2 separate regions of the Homo sapiens genome follow, and region 2 is linked to region 1. The links are contacts of gene promoters, found by promoter capture Hi-C in human tissues and cell types (Jung and others, 2019). All regions are on one chromosome and are shown on one strand. The core of a region is centred on a gene start or on the middle of the fragment in contact, and the rest is flanking DNA. Distances in the headings are between cores, read along the strand shown.

Region 1 (5,755 bases), core at 2,168-4,667:
CTTTACACTCTTTTCACCAGTTCACATCCATCATGATTTAGAACTTGGCTTAAAGAAGTCTCCCATTCTCCAAGAAGCCTTCTTTGAATAATGGTGGCTCCATACTCTTCACTGCCTTATCTATTTTTTCTTGTATGTGTTTTCTACTTATTTCTACCATTCTGGATTGCACACTACTCAAGGCAAGAAAAAATATATTCTATCTATACTTATGATCATTAGTCCCTTTCTAGGTTGAGATTTTGTCATTATTTTCCAAAGAACTTGTGCAGTATTAGACACACTCTAAGTGGTCAATGAATACGTTTTAGAAATACATAAATGGAATTAAATCTAGAGAGTGTGGTATGTTACTCTATTTAAGACCTGTTGTTAACCTAGCTAAACTTTTCCCATTTTCCAAGCAAACTTTACATTCTTAAACCATTTTAATTAGTGTAAAAGTATCGGCCGGGCGCGGTGGCTCACGCCTGTAATCCCAGCACTTTGGGAGGCCGAGGCGGGCGGATCACGAGGTCAGGAGATCGAGACCATCCCGGCTAAAACGGTGAAACCCCGTCTCTACTAAAAATACAAAAAATTAGCTGGGCGTAGTGGCGGGCGCCTGTAGTCCCAGCTACTTGGGAGGCTGAGGCAGGAGAATGGCTTGAACCCGGGAGGCGGAGCTTGCAGTGAGCCGAGATCCCGCCACTGCACTCCAGCCTGGGCGACAGAGCAAGACTCCGTCTCAAAAAAAAAAAAAAAAAAAAAAAAAGTATCACAATGATTCCAACCTCAAACATTCCTCCCAACTGTGGTTTCAGAATTCTTTTAGTCAAGTATCTAAGGAAGGAATATTCTATTAAAAATAATTTAACAATCAATCAAGGCCTATTTTTTTCCTTATCATCCACGTTATTAATCCAGTGGGTACTGCGTCTGACCCCTGAGAGGTTTCTTGGCCTGATAAACTAATGACAATAGTGAAGCATTAACAAAGATATCCTGAGATGCTGAAAAAAAGTATGATGGGGAAGTATGAAAGAAAGAGGTGGGGAAATGGTGATTTTTTTTTGTATTCATGTTTCTTTTAGTTTTAAATGGTAAAACCTTCTCCTATCCCAAATAAGTTGGTTTCTACTTACAGCTGGAAGGTTCTTAAAAACAACTATTTGGAATCAAAGATCCATGCCTCTGTTTGTTGAATTTAATTGCTGTATGGTTTATTGGAAAGGCCAGGGGTGGTGAATTTAAACCGTTTAAAATAGCAAACGATTAAAGTGAATTAAATTTAGTGCCTCTGAGATTTTTGATATATGTTCCAAATTTGTTTTTAATAACATAATTGTTCCATGTTACATTTAAGATTCCATCACAGGGAACTGGTTACGTGTGCAGTTATGCTTGTAGAAACCAATTCCAAATGTCAAAAATTAAAGTGAGGGCAACTGTAATGATATCATTAAAAAAGTAGAAGTTGAAAATGGAAGAGAAACACTTAGGTTGAATAAGGTCTTAATATGAAAGCTTTGAATAGAAAAACCTGAAAAAAATCACATGCATTAGGTTGACTTAAGGCCTTTTCAACAGCATTTAAATCGTTGACTTACAAGTAGAAACCAATGCATTTTCTCAAGGTATTTATTCATTCATTTTAGTGGAAAAAGATAGCTCCTGATCACGCAAATGGGAATTGTGCTAAATAAATTTTGAGAACATCCATCAAGAAATAAAAGTTACTAGTCATATGTATAAATGATTATTATATTTCATGTTTTAATAGTTTCTGTTAGTTTTCAGACTTTTTTTTTCTTAACTACAAGTACTGTAATTGCAATATTTTCTTGCCTCTGGGGCTTTCTCTTCCACAATTAATCATCTTTTTCTTCCACACCTTCCCTCCAAATGATTATTCCCCCTAGCTTCAGAACACTTGACATTAATTCATACTATTTCATCTTCACAGCTTTCAAAACATTGTCCTGCCCTTGCTTAGCTCCACGAGCCACCCCCCTTGCATTTAAAAAATTGGTTAACAGAAGCATTTTTGTACTATCTCTTTGCCAGAAGATGCTATTTACTTGGAAACAAATTAGCTTCCTTAATCAAACTTTTGAATTTGAAACTCTCTATATTTAAATTCCTTAGTATAACATCTATACTTCCAAAGTAGCAGTATGTTCACTTTAAACATTCAGAAAATTTGGATCCTAAGACTTTATCCTTCATCCTTCTGACTCTAGAATACATGTCCTTGATCATCAGAACCAAGAAAGAAATTGAGTCTCACCAGCTACACCACAAGTGCCAGCAGAGGAAACACTTTCAAACTGTCACTCACCTTCACATTTACAGGCAGCTTATCCATACGTCCTTTATAAACATCATTATGTATTGGTGCTTAAGACTTCAGTCACATGAGGTAAGCTTTCCAGTTTACAGGCAAAAGGGGGTGGCAATGGAGCCCTTTTCTTTATTTTTTTGTTTTTTTAGATCAAAACAAAAGCCAGTTTGGTCTGATGCTGCCATTTGTCAAGCATCTTTTAGAAAGCCGCCTAATGCATTAAATTAACCAAGTCAGGTTTAAAGTGTTTCCCATGCCCACAGTGACAGACGAGTTACCAGGCATGCTTAAGCAGACTGTCAAACTTTTGTTTACTCCTTTTAAACGGAAAGTCAGATTTTTTTTTTTTTTTTTTAAAAGATGTGTGGTGCGGAACAAGACGCTCACCTGTACACAACAAAGGCAGGTCTTTCCCGGCTGTCCTCACTGGGGGAGGGGATGGACAATCGCTAGACCTTTGTCCTCAGGTCCTGGGCATGGGGGTTAGGGGAGACGCGACTTTCTGGGAGTCGTGCAGGCACCTGCAGTCAAGAAACTACATATTGGTTTTGACCTCAATGACTGCCCTGGCTTAACCTTTGGAGAGGCCCTTTAGTTCGGGGAGGGGGCTTGCTGCTCCAAACCGTAGCCACGTCACCCACAAGGACTGGGGAGGAAATGACTGACCGCTCAAGAGTCAGGGACCCCTGTCTCTCCCAACTAGACCCGAACGTCCACAGCCCTCTTATCGGGCTCGCCCCGTGGCGGGCAGGGCCGTGGTGCGCAGGGATCGCGGCGGGCGCAGACCCGGTCTCTTGCTCGGTGTCCCCGCCGCGCCCGCACCGCCACCGTGAGGCCGAGCCGGGGATGGTGCCCCGTGGCGGCGGCGGCGGCGCCTCCGCGCTCCTCTCCGCACCGCCCCGGCCGCCGCCGCGCCAGGCACGGGCGGGGGGATTTTTTTCCCGTTTCCCCCTCTTTCGCGCTCTCGCTCCTGTTCAGCGGGAGAGCCCGCAGAGTCAGGGAGGGAGCGAGGGAAGGGGTGGAGGTGGCGGGGGGAGGCCGGAGGGGCGGATCCTGCCTGGGGGCTGATCCCTCCCTCCCCTCGGCCGGGCTCCGTGGCGGCAGCGGCAGCAGCGGCGGCTCCATTCCCCCTCCTCCCCCGGGAGCGGCGGCGGCGGCCGGGCCGGGGCCCCAGCGCGGGCCGGGAGGGGGCACGGCGGAGGCCACGGAGGCAGGCGCGGGAGAAGACCGCGCTCCGCTTCCCGGGCCGCGCCGACCTGCTCGGCGGCCTGCCCGCCCGCGCCCAGGGGCCCCGAACGGTGGGGCCGGGCAGGCGGCTGAGGTAATGGGGGCGGCAGCGGGGCCGGACAGAGCGGGGGCGGGGGCATCGGGGCCTTCGGGGACCAGGGACTGCACGGGGGGAAACCGGAGAAGCGGGGGGCTTTCCGAGCAGGGCGGGGGCGGTGCGAAAGCTCTCTCCTGGAGCGAGGGCGGCGGCAGGGAAGGAGAAGGCGGGTGAGCGGGGGAGCTGAGAAGCGAGGACCCCCTCCCGCAGCCGCCATCTTGTCTCCCCCCCCAGCCCTGGATTCCGAGCCGCTAAGCCCCGCCCCCGCCACGCCTTCCAATTGGCCTGGCCAGACGAGAGTCCCGCCCCTTGAGCGGCCCTAGGTCCCCTGGGTCCCTCTGACGGGCAGGTGACGCAGCCAATGGGTTCTCGCCTCTCCGCCCCGCTCATTCGCTGGCGCTCGCTTTCTCTGTCTGAGGGTCGGACTCCACGTCAGGCTGTCTCTGGTGCGCTCGCCCCTCCCCTCTGAGGAGATGTTATTTCCCTCCTTTCTTCTCCGAGGGGTCAAGATTCTTCTGGAAGAGGTGCCCCCTTAAAGGAGCAGGAGCCTTGGCTGGGGTCCTCCTTGTCTCCTGAGTATCTTGTGTGAGGTGCAGGGGATACAGTCTAATTGCAGAAGCTCCTCATTCTTCGGGGACCTGGATGGGGTGGGTGAGCGAGGGGTCAGGGGGTGCCGAGGGGAAATCTGGGGGGGCGGGGGTTGTTGGAGATATTTTGGAGGTGTGTATGTGGGAAGGGCTGTGTAGGTTGAGAAACTCCCGCCAAAAAACTCGTCTAGACTGTAAGCTCCTTGTGGGCGAAACTCTTTTCATTTCCCTCATCAGCAGTCCCTTCCCCCTCTAGAGTTTCTCCCCGGTGTCTGGAGGCGTGGGTGGGACAAAACACGTCTGTGTAGAGTCTTGCATGGTCGAGAGATGCTTGAGCAGCCGAGGAGGTGGCAGGTGGGGAAGGAGAAGATGGAGCGGCTTTCATGAAAGTGGGCGCCGCACCGCCTGTCTGCGCTGTTTGGGGTCGGTGTGGAGGCAGATGTTCTCACCTCTTCTAGGGCCTCGGTGCCTTTGGAGGGGTGGGTGATGAAGCAGGTCTGTTGGCCCTGTCTGCCCCCAGGGACTTGGCATTTGTAAGGAATCCAGTAGCCAAGGGCCTCTGGAACCCGGACAGAATTGCTGCGATGATTCTGTTTCCTTTGGCTCCAAATGGGGTGTGTGCCAGCCCGCCTGGCACTGCTCCTCAGCCAAATTGGTTTTTTGTTTGTTTCAGTCACACTTTGGGATTGGAAGGCCTTTCAAGTAAAGATGTTAATAATACCTTATTAACAAGTAGCACCTAGAGAGCTAGATTGTGTTACCCTCATTTTACTGATGGAGTATGGAGGCATAGAGAGCTTAAGGGACTTTCTCTAGGTCACAGAGGGCCAAGATTAGAACCTAGATTGCCCCAGAGCCTCGTTTTGTACCAGACCATAGCACCTCTGTGGTGTTCTTAATTCCCACTGAGAGGAATTGAGCATCGGAAGACCTGGGTTCAAATTGTAGCGTTATCACTTACTAGCTTTACGTTGAGTGACATCTTTCTGAGCTTCTGTGTAGATGATAATAGCTACACCATCTCCTAAGGTAGTTGTGAGAAATATTAAAAGTAAGAGGGCTTTGTAGTTTGGAAAAAGTGCTTTTATTATCACCGTCTCTACTTTATATAGATGGTAGACCCTGCAACCAAGGCGATGAATTGTTTTTCTCTTTGAAATCTTCTCTTTGTTCATATCCTTCCAAGTCTGCCCACACCATGGGGCCCTGTATCCCCAAAGGTCTCTCCTGGTGGTGACAGCCTTGGTAACTGCCTACCGCAGCTCCTTATGAGCTTGTCATCCAGAGAATGATGGGGGAAACTAGGACTTTCTCTTGGCTGTACAAGGATAGACTAGATATGAGTGTTCTGGGAGAGACTTTTGAGGTAACAGAATGCATTGAGAGTTTACCTCAGATACTGCCCAGATCATCTTGGCCTTCGGTCGAATGAAGGTCCTAGACAGGCCACTATAACTTCAGAGATCTCTTGGAGCCACTCTCAGAGCTTCTAGGGTTTGTTTCTGCCTGGAAATGTACTAG
Region 2 (5,755 bases), core at 964-3,463, 1.0 Mb after region 1:
CCAAAACAAAAACAAAAGCCGTATGTCTAAATAAGTATTAAAAATTATTTTGATAAGCATACAATAAAAATTCAGTCATGGGCTGGGCACAGTGGCTCATGCCTATAATTCCAGCAGTTTGGGAGGCCAAGGTGGGCATATCACTTGAGCCCAGGAGTTTGAGACTAGCCTGGGCAAGATGGCAAAAACCCATCTCTACAAAACATACAAAAATTAGCTGGGCTTGGTGGCCACGCCTGTAGTCCCAGCTACTTGGGAGGACTGCTTGAGCCCAGGAGGCCGAGGCTGCAGTGAACCATGATCGTGCCACTGAACTCCAGTCTGGGTGACAGAGCAAGACTCTGTCTTAAAAAATAAATAAATAAATAAATAAATAAATAAGTAAATAAAATTCTAAGATATGAGAAAGCATTGAAGCATAGTGTAATTAATGATATTTGTATTTCAGTGGTACCTAAGATAATGATGCATTTTGCAGTTGACGGCACCTTAGATTTACTCAATCATGGTAAGAACTTTTTATTTTCAATTGCTCTCATCAAGTTGACTTGTGATCTCAGTAGAATATGTTGCTGCCAACTCATTTCAGATGGATCTCTTGCAACACTGGGTTAGGGAGGAAAATAACAATGACAACGAACACATTATAAAGCTTTAGAGCCTAATTCATCTATATCGGTTAAGATCCTCCCCTTAAATAGGAGGATCACTTAAGCCCAGGGGTTTCAGACCAGCCTGGGCAACATGGTGAGACCCCAGCTCATTAAAAAAAAAAAAAAAGAAGAATGCATTTGGCTGCAAGGAACAGAGACTCAAACAATAGTAGTTTAAACAACTAGAAATTTATTTTCTTCTTCTAACAGGAAATCTGGCAGTGGCAGCCTAGCACTTGGTCAGTAGCCTCTGGGTAATGTGTCTGGGTGGCTAAGAAGAGGCGAGACAGAAAACTGCTGGGACTTTTTAAAGCCTTTAAGTATGTGTGACTGTTTTGCCCTCTGAACTCTTGTATTAGTCACTATTGCTCTGTAACAAATTACCTCAAACCTTAGACACTTATGATATAAAACATTTATTATCTCATAATTTCCATGAGTCAGGAATCCAAGAGTAGCGTAGGTGGGTGGTTCTGGTTCAAGGTTTCTCACAGGGCTGCTGTCAAGCTGTTGGCCTGGGCTGGGGGCCATCTAAAGGCTCTACTTGTGGGAGGGAAGTTTCATCCAAGCTCGCTCTCTCTGACTGTTGGCAGGAAGCCACAGTTCTTTCTTGGCTGTTGGCCAGAGAACTCAGTTCCTCACCTCCTGGGCCTTTCTATAGTCCACTTGAATTTCCTCATGACATGGCCACTGGCTTCCCCCAGAGTAAGTGATGAGAGAGAGAGAGAGAGAGACCAAAATGGAAGCTGCACTGTCTTAGTAATCTCAGAAGTGATATCCATCACTTCAGCTATTTAATTGGTCACACTCACTGACCCTGCAGGGGACTATGGGGAGAGGACAACATAAGGGTGTAAATACCAGGAGGCCAGGATTATTGAGGCAAACTTGAGGCCGGCTATCACATCTCTATGTATGTATACATGTATGTGTGTGTATTTGAGAAACATGATTAATTTAAAACAGAAAAATAAATTTAAAAAAAGACATAAAAACAAAACATCAAATGGTTGTTACTAATTCACTCTTCCATCAAAAATATATGTACCTATCTGTTTTAGCACACATTTGCTATCATTTGGTATTACTATTTTAAGATTCTATTTTGATTTATTCTCTTCATTTAACCTAGTAGTAGGTGAAAATATTTTAATTTTTGTATCTTATTGATTATTCCTAAGGTTGAACATTTATGAAGTATTTGTTAACCAGTTTTACTGACCTTTTTGCAAGTTATGTCTTTACTTAATATATTAATGTATCAGGATATTAGCATTTTTTCAATGTGCATGAGTTCTATATATAATAAAAGTATTACTCTTTTTTTTTTTTTTTTTGAGACAGGGTCTTGCTCTGTCTCCCAGGCTGGAGTGTAGTGGCACAATCTTGGCTCACTGCACCTTTGACCTCCTGGGCCCCAGTCTCCCAAGTAGTTAGAACTACAGCTGCGTGACACCATACCTGGTTAATTTTTTTTTTTTAGAAACGGGGTCTCACTATGTTGCCCAGGCTAAAGGTGTTACTCTTTGTCAAAGAAAAAAAAGGTGGCTGTCTACGTGGTGGGGAATATGAAGACCCTTCACTCCTCAGCGGCAGAGCTCCAAGGAGGGAAGCAGGACCTCAAAAGCGACATCTCAGCATTGTACCTGGAGAGGGGACTGGACCCTGAGCACTAGGGATTCTGTCTTCCCTCCTCCAACCTCAGTAAGGATTCCTACAACTCATGTGCGGCTAGAAGCAGGTGCTGGCAGGATCCAAGGTCCCCATTCTTGGGCTGGCATGAGGCAGCTGTCAGCACCCCCAGTGATGCTACAGGTTTTCTGTTCCAGGTTCTACATCTGGATTCTGGGTCATCCCTGGGAGCCAGAGGGATCCCCAGTGATAAGAGAGATTGAATTTTTTTCTAGTCTGGCAATATCCAGGCCAATTTAATTAGATTTTTAAAATACAAATGGACATTTTGTATATATATAAGCTTGAATTCTTAGAGACATACATTCTATATTTTCTTATTTAAAACTCCATTAACTTTTTAAAAAAGTTATTGAGATAATTTATGACCTCTTCTCACTCCTTTTCCTTGGCTTTGTATGTAACCGTGTAAATTTGCACTGTAACTAAACACTAACACAAGAGATGGCTTTATCGCGTTGTCTTTATTTTCAAAAAGTAATATGAAGTCTGTTTTGGCCTGCTTCCTCAGGGAGTTAGGGAAAAATTCGATCTCAATTTTTTTTTTTTTTTTTTTGCCTGCTCTTTCCCTGCCCCTTGATGGAGTCACATAGAACCCCCTGAGTTCACCCAATCTTGGAATCTGAGGGAAGAGTTCTAGACTTCAAGACAGTGTGGTCACTGTGAAGGGCTTGATGTCCAGACTTCAGTGGTCCCACTGCTCATAGCCCTGGAGACTATGGCTTAGAGCTCAGTCCCCAGCCAAGTGTCCACTCAGCTAACCCATCAAACATTCTGCCACTCTGGGGTCTGGGAGAGAGTCAAACACAGGCCCCCACGGTGGGCAGAACCTGTACCTCTCTATTCCCCCCAAGGGAAGGAAATTCCACATGCTGTAGAAAGCTGGGAACCATTCTATTCACCCTCAACTTTTCAAATCAGCACTCCCTACTCATCCATATCATCTAGATCTTTTCTTTGCCTTTAAGAGCCTAGATTTTCCAAAACAAAAGTTCTTTAACTCTCTGAGTGGGGAAGAGATGGGCAGTCTTCTTAAGCCTACAAAGAGAAAAGCCTGTCATGCTTTGGTGGTGAATCAGCTGACAAACAGGGAAACCAGCCCCAGCTTGGAATGAGGTAATTCTGACAGTAAATCACACTACTTCATACAAAGCCCTCATGATCTGACTGGGACCCAACTTTCCAGGGGTATTGCTAAGCATTCCTTCTCATGTATCTAATACTCCCACTTCCTCAAATATTTTTTCTCCCCTTCTTCACCTGCTCATCTCTCAAGGTATTCAGATCCTTAAAAAGGTGTCAGGGCTCTAGGTTGGCATCTGTAATTCCTTTGGCCTTACTTTTGTGGTCATAAGCTGACTGCCCCAGTGACTCACACCAGTATCCCAGGCAGGAGTGTGCCAGTAAGCTCTCTTCCATGTTTGTCTCTTTCATAGGAAGTAAAACATTTCCCAGAAAACCCCTAGCAGTCTTCTTCTCATGGCTCATTGGTCAGAACTGGGTCACATGGCACATGTAGCTGCAGGAGAGGCTGGGAAAGCAAGTTTCTGGCAAAGTTGAATGGGATCGCCATAACTTGTTTAGGTAAATTATGATTTATGCCCACACTGTGAACACAGTTGCCCTGCCCCTACAAAAAAAAGAGCCCCCTTAAAAAAGAATATGGAAGGAAATAACTAATAAAGTCCACCACGGAGATGTTGTCCCATTAATTATTCCATCTTCTTTAATTTGGCAAGGGCTATTACTCTCTGTTTGCCCCTTCTTCCACTCTGAAACAGGGCGTTTAGTTATAAATTCGGTTGGCCAGAATAAGGTTTACGTTTTCCAGCTTTCTGTGCAGCTGAGTGTGGTCATGTGACCAAGTCCTGAGAATGGATTGAAAGGGGGAAAAAAATGGAGGAAACCACCAGGTATTGAAGAGAAAGGTCATGTTCTCCCTGTCCTTCTTCCCAGTGTAATTGCCCAGTGGGTTCTTCCTGCCTGCTACACAGACAAAACCAATTCACTGAGACCATGACACTGCAGTAAAGAAAGAGTTTAATTGATATGAGGCTGGCCATATCATATGGGATATGGAGTTATTACTCAAATCAATCTCCCCAAAGGCTCAGAGGTTAGGGTTTTGTTTTGTTTTGTTTTTTGAGACAGAGTTTCTCTCTTGTTGCCCAGGCTGGAGTGCAATGGCATGATCTCGGCTCACTGCAACCTCCGCCTCCTGGGTTCAAGCGATTCTCCTGCCTCAGCATCCCAACTAGCTGGGATTACAGGCATGCACCACCACACCTGGCTAGGGTTTTTCGAGGATAGTTTGGTGAGCAGAGGACTAGGGAATGGGTGGTGCTGACTGGTGGGGAATGCCATCATAAGGATGTGGAAAACTCCTTGTGTGCTGAGTCTGCCTCTGGATGGGGGGGTGCACAGGACCGGTTCAGTCAGGAGCCAGGAGCCCACATGGAGTCAGCCAGTCCTCAGAAATGCAAGTCTGAAAAGACGTCTCAAAAGGCCAATCTTAGGTTCTACAGTAGTGATGTTATCTACAGGGGAACTGGGGAAGTTACAAATTTTGTGACCTCTGGAACAGTGGCTGGTTATCATTTAACTCCACCTACATTTTAGTAGAACTCAGGCCCCTCTCATAATCCTAACCTTGTGGACTTTTATTAGTTTTACAAAGGTGGTTTAGTTTTGGGAAGGGCTATTGTCATCTTTGCTTTAAGGTTAAAATGTAAACTAAATTCTTTCCAAAGTTTGGCTTATGCATAGGAATGAACAAGGAGAATCTGGAGGTTAGAAGCAAGAAGGAGTCAACTGTGTCAGATTTCTCTTACTGTCGTAGTTTTGCAAAGGCAGTTTCACCAGAGGCTGAAACCCCTATGGGAGAAAAACTGTAAACTTCTTTCACATGAGGGAGAAAAACCGTAAACTTCTATTGTGTCTAAAGCACTATTATTTTCCAGCTACACTTATAGCCTAACAAATACAACTGCCTCCAATCCTTGGCCTATAAACATGTTGAAGTCTCGTCTACCTCAACTTCTCCCTTGACCCCATGTTTCTCTCTAATTTACTTTCAGTCTTTCTCTGTGTAAGTCAGAGCAAGCAACAAGTGCCAACTCTTGGCTGATTTAAGCAGAAAAACCATGGCTCATAGACTTGTGGAGAAATCTGGAGAATCATATGTGTGTTGGCCGTATATTGTCACAATAACATCACATAAACAACCATAAAACCACAATGGCATGTAACAATGGACATGTATTTAATACACAAGTTTGTGAGGTTCAGTTTATCTGGGGCTGGGCTGGGCTGAGCTGAGCTGATCTCAGCTGGACTCGCTCAAGTGTCTGAGGTCAACTGTTGGTTGGCCAGGCAATTTTGTTGATTTTGGCTCAGCTAATTCATACGTC

What was found. The method cuts DNA at HindIII sites, captures the fragments that hold promoters and counts their contacts. A contact is called where the count stands out against the background at its distance.
Region 2: a fragment that was not itself captured here is called in contact with the fragment with the promoter of BRPF3 in region 1 in 1 of the 25 tissues and cell types used here (aorta).

Annotation. Positions count from the first base shown.
Region 1 is chr6:36,193,327-36,199,081 of GRCh38, forward strand. It overlaps BRPF3 (bromodomain and PHD finger containing 3), which reads left to right and starts at 3,418. Exons shown (of 13, transcript NM_015695.3): 1 at 3,418-3,644. It overlaps BRPF3-AS1 (BRPF3 antisense RNA 1), which reads right to left and starts at 3,877. Exons shown (of 3, transcript NR_187147.1): 1 at 2,711-3,877. RefSeq lists a silencer at 3,033-3,772 and an enhancer at 4,123-4,172. The HindIII fragment of the contact is 7,678 bases long and covers 1,957-5,755 here.
Region 2 is chr6:37,239,127-37,244,881 of GRCh38, forward strand. The region is part of intron 1 of TMEM217B (transmembrane protein 217B); the gene reads right to left. The region is part of intron 1 of TMEM217 (transmembrane protein 217); the gene reads right to left. Among named protein-coding and RNA genes, the nearest start is that of TBC1D22B, 16 kb to the right of the region's middle. RefSeq lists an enhancer at 1,067-1,361. The HindIII fragment of the contact is 5,344 bases long and covers 1-4,885 here.